2 separate regions of the Homo sapiens genome follow, and region 2 is linked to region 1. Evidence: promoter capture Hi-C in human tissues and cell types (Jung and others, 2019). All regions are on one chromosome and are shown on one strand. Each heading gives the region's core, a stretch centred on a gene start or on the middle of the fragment in contact. The rest is flanking DNA. Distances are from core to core; before and after follow the strand shown. Region 1 holds the start of SYNGR1 (synaptogyrin 1). Region 2 has its middle 33 kb from the start of TNRC6B.

What was found. The method cuts DNA at HindIII sites, captures the fragments that hold promoters and counts their contacts. A contact is called where the count stands out against the background at its distance.
Region 2: a fragment that was not itself captured here is called in contact with the fragment with the promoter of SYNGR1 in region 1 in 1 of the 25 tissues and cell types used here (dorsolateral prefrontal cortex).

What each region holds. Positions count from the first base shown.
Region 1 is chr22:39,348,173-39,351,248 of GRCh38, forward strand. SYNGR1 (synaptogyrin 1) reads left to right here and starts at 1,819. Exons shown (of 4, transcript NM_004711.5): 1 at 1,819-1,937. The coding sequence starts at 1,839. RefSeq lists a silencer at 1,866-2,025. The HindIII fragment of the contact is 13,153 bases long and covers 1-3,076 here.
Region 2 is chr22:40,143,074-40,146,943 of GRCh38, forward strand. It overlaps a transcript of TNRC6B not described here. Among named protein-coding and RNA genes, the nearest start is that of TNRC6B, 33 kb to the right of the region's middle. The HindIII fragment of the contact is 4,470 bases long and covers 330-3,870 here.

The sequences.
Region 1 (3,076 bases), core at 569-3,068:
CCATTTTTTAAAAAGTGGGTCCTCTTATTATTATTGAGTTCGAACGTTCTTTATTTGGGATGCAAGTTCTTTAGATCTATGCTTTGCAAATATTTTCTCCCAGACTATCGTTTGTCTTTTCATACATTCTTTTAACAATGTCTTTTAAAGAACAGAAGTTCTTAATTTTGATAAAGTCCAGTTTATCAATTGTTTCTTTTATGAATCATGTTCTTCATGATTTTTTTTTTTTTTTTTTTTTTTTGAGACGGAGTCTCGCTCTGTTGCCAGGCTGGAGTGCTGTGGCGCGATCTCGGCTCACTGCAACCTCCACCTCCTGGGTTCAAGTGATTCTCCTGCCTCAGCCTCCCAAGTAGCTGGGACTACAGGAGCTCGCCACCACGCCCGGCTAATTTTTGTATTTTTAGTAGAGACCGGGTTCACCATGTTGGCCAGGATGGTCTCAATCACTTGACCTTGTGATCCATCCACCTTGGCCTCCCAAGGTGCTGGGATTACAGGCGTGAACCACTGCGCCCGGCCTTCTCTTGTGCTTTCTTCTAAAAGTTTTATATAGTCATAGTAGACACCTTATAAGTGTGCTGGATTAAATGTGAAAATGTATGTAAAGCCCTTAGCACAAGGCCTGGTAGAGACTAAACAATCAGCTGAGCCTAAGATGGACATTGACTATGTAATTTTTATAAGGAGCACCCTCAGGCCCAGCACACATTTCCTCCACACAGATGTTGTGTCCTGTCATCACAGAATGGCAGGATACCAGAGAAGCAAAAGCCTCCACCCATATCCTCATCCAACCTGCTCCTGGAACCAGTGAAGGTGACTGCAGACATAGAGAGGCCATAGAGCTACAGGGCAGCAGGAGAGCCAGCCCTGGAAGGTGGCCCTTCCCCTGCAGGGAGCACTCCTCCATCTAGCCTCCGTTTCCATGAAACCTGGAGGTCTAGCCCAAGCTGTGATGGGGTGATGGGGACTAGGCTCTGTTTACTGAGCACCTACTGTATGCTAGGCCCTTGGGTAAGGCATTGAATAAGTTAGACAACACCTGGGCCTCGGGAGCTCACAGACTAGCAGCAGAAGAGGCCATGAACAAATGATTGCGTAATTAATTGCTAGATTCAGGAAAGGGGCAACGTTCTGGGGTAGGAGGGGATGGGGAAGAGGAAGTCTCAGCCGCCGCCTCTGTGCCAGGCCCCTCCAGGCTGGGGGTGGGAGGGTGCGCGGGCACAGGGACACACATGACGTCATCGTAAGAGGCAGGGGAAGGGTGGTCCTGGGAGGTGGGGGCTGCTCTGGAGGGCTGTAAGAGAGGGTCATTCACTCGTGGTTCATTCATTCGAGAAATATTCATGCGGCGCCTACTGCGTACCAAGCACCCTCTAAGAAGGACGAACACAGCTCCTGCCCTCTCATTATATTTGGGGCCGACAAAGTGGCAGGAAACAGCCAAACAAATCAAGCGTGAAGATGGTTTCAGCAGAGCCGACGGCTCAGAGGGGCTGCGACCGGGGCAGGGGACCGGGGATGCGGGGCAGGGACACGGCCCACACTTGCTGTGCACGCACCGCCCTCCCCCAAACACTTTGCAAAGAGGTCACCGCACTGGCTGCGAGCGCGCCCTGAGCCCCGGGCCGCAGCACGCGCGCCCCCGCGCCCGAGGTCGCGCGCTGCCCAGCCCCCCGCCCGCGCCCCGCGAGCTGCGCCCGCCGCGCACGACGCCCCCTCGCGGGAGCCCTGGGCCGCCGGCCGCGCGCGCAGGGGAGGGGGCGGGGGCGCCGCGCACGCGCACGGGCCGGCGGCGCGCGCCGAGCGGGGGGCACCGCGCGGGTGCAGCCACGATGGAAGGGGGTGCGTACGGAGCGGGCAAAGCCGGGGGCGCCTTCGACCCCTACACCCTGGTCCGGCAGCCGCACACCATCCTGCGCGTCGTGTCTTGGGTAAGGACGGACTGGCCGACGGCTCTGCCAGGCCGGGGTGGTGGGGGTGTGAGCAAAGGCGGCGCGCCCGGACCGACCCCGACCCCGACCCCAACGGGCCCCCGGCGGCGGCGCGGCGGCGGGCGAGGAGCTGTCCTGCCTGCGGGGCCCGCTGCCGCCGCTCCTCCTTCCCGGGCCCGGGGCGGGCGGGATCCCTGGTGCTCGCGGGAGACGCCGCTCCGGCTCCCGGAGCCCTGGTTTCCTGGGGCCCCCGGTTCGTGCGCCCCCCTTCCCGCCCCGATTGCTGTGACCTCCAGGCCGCGGCTATGCCGCGAAAGGCTCGGATTGTGCGCGGCCGCCAGGGCGGACTGGGGACCGTGGGGACGGAGCCAGGGTTTAAGGTGGCCTTTTTTGGGGGGTGGATCAGGGCGTGGACCATCTCGGTGGGGTGCATGCCGCGCCTGCGATGGACGTTGGAGGAGGAGAGGGCCGGGAACCGGGTTCGTATTGCCTAGCCCGGCCCGTGTGGAGCGATGAGTCGGGAACTGAGTACCTCTCTTCCACCCGGGAACTGCCTCTCCTTCTCTGCGTGACCTTGGGCTGGGAGCCACCCAGGAAATGTTCTCGAGAAATGAGGACTTCAATTCCGAGGTGGGGAGTGTCATCTCCTCTCTCATGCCTCAGTTTCCCAATTTATAGACAAGGTGGGCGGAGCCTTCTTGAGGCCCCCTTGGGCTCTGACATTTCATGAACCGGTAACACCCCTCCCACTCAGCATGCACCTGGATGCCCAAGGCGGGTGTCTGGGAGAAAGGTCTGCTCCCACAGTGAAGAGGCCAGGGTGGCCTCCAGCCTAGCTGGGGGGCAGGGTCCTCAGTGCAGAGGGCTGAGTGGGCTCTTGTTCAGACGGGTGGTCAGGGAGAGGATGGGTCAGAGACAGTGAGCACAGAGGGAGGGGTTCAGGTGCCTTGAGTGGCACCTCATGGAAAGAAGCCCTGCTGGGGTCTGGAGAGGGGGTTTCTGGGGCTCCCTGGGTTTGGCTGGCTGTATCCCAGAAACTCCCACTCGAGGTTCTGGCCTCTGCAGGCCTGGGGCCCGTTCCTTGTGGGCTTAGACTAGGAATGGGCTAGACTGTCAGGGACCCCAGGGGCTACCCCAAG
Region 2 (3,870 bases), core at 1,315-3,814, 800 kb after region 1:
AGTTGGTCAGTTGAATTTCATGAAACATTGTAAACTTCTGCTAAACAACTGACACCATTAAGAATGTGGAAAAAGGCTGGGCACAGTGGCTCATGCCTATAATCCCAGCATTTTGGGAGGCCGGGGCGGGAGAATCACTTGAGGCCAGGAGTTTGAAACCAGCCTGGGCAACATGGCAAGACCCCGACTCTACAAAAATATTTTTAAAAATTAGTTGGGTGTGGTGATGCACTCCTGTAGTCCTAGCTGCCCAGGAGGCTAAGGTGGAAGGATCACTTAAGCCCTGGAGGTTGAGGCTGCAATGAGCTATGATCACGCCACTGCACTCCAGCCTGGGTGACAGAACAAGACCTTGACTCTAAAAAAAATCAAATAAGAATATGGAAAACTATAGATTGGGAAAAAACATTTGCAATACATCTTTTTTTGTGGGGGGGATAGAGTCTCGCTCTGTCACCCAGGCTGAAGTGCAGTGGCCCAATCTCGGCTCACTGCGAGCTCCACCTCCCGGGTTCACTTCATTCTCCTGCCTCACTGCCTCAGCCTCTGAGTAGCTGGGACTACAGGCGCCCACCACCACGCCCCGCTAATTTTTTGTATTTTTAGTAGAGACAGGGTTTCACCGTGTTAGCCAGGATGGTCTCGATCTCCTGACCTCGTGATCCGCCCGCCTTGGCCACCCAAAGTGTTGGGATTACAGGCGTGAGCCACTGTGCCCGGCCTGGAATACATCTTTCTAATAAAAGTCTGCAATACATCTTTCTAATAAAAGTCTCATGTCCAGAGTATGTAAAGAATTACCAAAAATCAGTTAGAAAAGGTCAAACAACTCAAAAATGTACAAAAGACTAGGCATTTCACAAAATAAGGCATCCAAATGGTTATGAAAACACAGATGTTCAACATTATTCATGAGCAAAATACAAATTAAAACTGTAATGTAATGCCATTATACACTCACCAAAATGACTACAGTTCAAAAGACTAATAATACCAGGTGTTGGCAAGAATGTGGAGCAACTGGAACTTTTAGACATTGTTGGAAGGAGTGTAAAATGGTACAGCCACTTAAAGAACTGTTTCATAAGCTTCTAAATAATGTTAAACGAACTTCCACCCTATAAGGCAGACATTCTCTTAGGTGTATACTCCATAGAAATGACTGCATAGATTTGCAAAAACACATTATATGAAAATGCTCATGGCAGTTTTATTTATAGCAGCTCCAAACTGGAAATAGCTAGCTGTCTATCTAATGAATAAACAAATTATAGTTTGTCTGTGCAGTGGAACACTACTAAGTTTAAAAATTGAACTCTTGGCTGGGCGCAGTGGCTCCCGCCTGTAATCCCAGCACTTTGGGAGGCCGAGGCGGGCGGATCACGAGGTCAGGAGATCGAGACCATCCTGGCTAACATGGTGAAACCCTGTCTCTACTAAAAATACCAAAAATTAGCCGGGCGTGGTGGCGGGCACCTGTAGTCCCAGCTACTTGGTAGGCTGAGGCAGGAGAATGGCGTGAACCGAGGAGGCAGAACTTGCAGTGAGCCGAGATTGTGCCACTGTACTCCAGCCTGGGCGACAGAGCAAGACTCCGTCTCGGAAAAAAAAAAAAAAAAAAATGAACTCTTGATCAGTGTAACAACATGGATAAATCTCAGAAACATTATACCGAGTGAAAAAATGTAGATATAAAAGTGGTACATACTGTCAGATCCCAGTGATATTAAGCTTTCGAACATGTCAATCCCATTTATAGTTAATAGGGCGATCTTCAAGGGAAGGGGCATGTAGAAGTTTTCTGGGGAGATGGAAATTTTCTGTCTCAATCTATATGTTGCTTGAAGGTACAACCATATCTAAAATTAATCATTAAGGCTAGGCTCAGTAGCTCATGCCTGTAATCCCAGCACTTTGGGAGGCCAAGACTGGAGGATCACTTCAGCCCAGGAATTTCAGACCAGCCTGGGCAGAGAGACCCTATCTAGCTCCACAAAAAAAAAAAAAAAAAAAATTTTTTTAATTAGCTGGGTGTGCTGGCACAGGCCTGTGGTCCCAGCTATTCGGGAGGCTAAGGTGGGAGAATCACTTGAATTCGGGATGTCAAGGCTTCAGTGAGTCATAATTGTGCCGTTGCACTGCAGCCTGGGTGACAGAGTGAGACCCTGTCTCAAAAGTAGAGAGAAATGAGATAAAAATAAAATTCATTGAGCCTACACTTAAAGTGTGTGTATTTTTCTGCTTGTGAATTATACTTCAATTTAAAAAAAAAATTGAGGAGCTTCCACCCATCTCCTTAGTCTGTTGAGACCATGTTAAATATTGATTCTTTTATCCACTATATCAGCTGACTTCTCAGCTTTCAAAAAATATATACATTTTCTTTTTAACTGCAGTACCTGCAGTAGAGGGTGTGGTTGGAGATATTTATAAAATGGGTAGGATTTAGCAATTTATTCGATGTTGAGGAAAGAGAAAACGATAAATCGGCTGGGCATGGTGGTTCACGCCTGTAATCCCAGCACTTTGGGAGGCTAAGGCAGGCGGATCACAAGGTCAAGAGATTGAGACCATCCTGGCCAACACGGTGAAACCCCGTCTCTACTAAAAATACAAAAATTAGCTGGGTGTGGTGGCGCCCTCCTGTAGTCCCAGCTACTTGGGAGGCTGAGGCAGGAGAATTGCTTGAACCCAGGAGGCAGAGGTTGCAGTGAGCCAAGATCACATCACTATGCTCCAGCCTGGTGACAGAGCGAGACTTTGTCTCAAAAAAAAAAGCAGGTTTGGGAGTGAATAGGATGCAGTCTGTATGGAGCACAGAGTTTGAAATGCTGGCATATAATCTGCATGGCAACGTCAGCCTGATGAAACTGTGGGGCTGGAAACGTGATAGGTTAGGATGGAAACAGAATTGGGATCACTCAAATTTAATAGTGGAAACTGTGAGATTAGATGAAATGGCTGTGGCAGAATGAGAAGAAAGAGGTCCAAGGGCAGAACCTAGGGAAATAAATGCTTAGGGAGTAGTAGGAGAAAGGGAAAGTCGGCACATCCTGGTCAAACAACTTTGTTGTGCCAGGCTTCTGGTGAATAAGACATTCAAAGTCTCTGCCTCAAGAAGTTTGCATTCGTGGTTGGGGAGACAGACAATAAGACACATGAACAAATAAGCCTTTCAGGTAGTGATATGTGTGATGCTGGGGAGTGACTGGAAGTATTTCAGCTGGGCTGGTAGGGGAAGATCACCCTGGATCAAAGAGATGGCCCTAGAGCTGATGACTGAATGATGTGAAGGAAGCTTTCATGTAATAATATGTGAGAAATGCTGTCTTTTTTTTTGAGACGGAGTTTCTCTCTTGTTGCCCAGGCTGGAGACCAATGGCATGATTTTGGCTCACTGCAACCTCTGCCTCCTGAATTCAAGCATTGTCCTACATCAGCCTCCCAAGTAGCTGGGATTACAGGCATGTGCCACCACGCCCGGCTAATTTTTTTTTTTTTTTTTTTTTTTGAGATGGAGTCTCGCTCTGTCGCCCAGGCTGGAGTGCAGTGGCGCAATCTCAGCTTACTGCAACCTCCTCCCCCTAGCAGTTCTCCTACCTCAGCCTCCTGAATAACTGGGATTACAGGCGCCCGCCGCCATGCCTGGCTAATTTTTTGTGTGTGTTTGTAGTAGAGACAGGGTTTCGCCATGTTGGCTAGGCTGGCCTTGAACTCCTGACCTCACATAATCCACCTGCCTTGGCCTCCCAAAGGGCTGGGATTACAGGCATAAGCCACCGTGCCCGAACAAGAAACGTTTTCTAAGTCAAAGGAATAAATCCAAAGCCTCTAAGATTGGGTGAGAGAGAGGAAAAGAAATGACGGAAG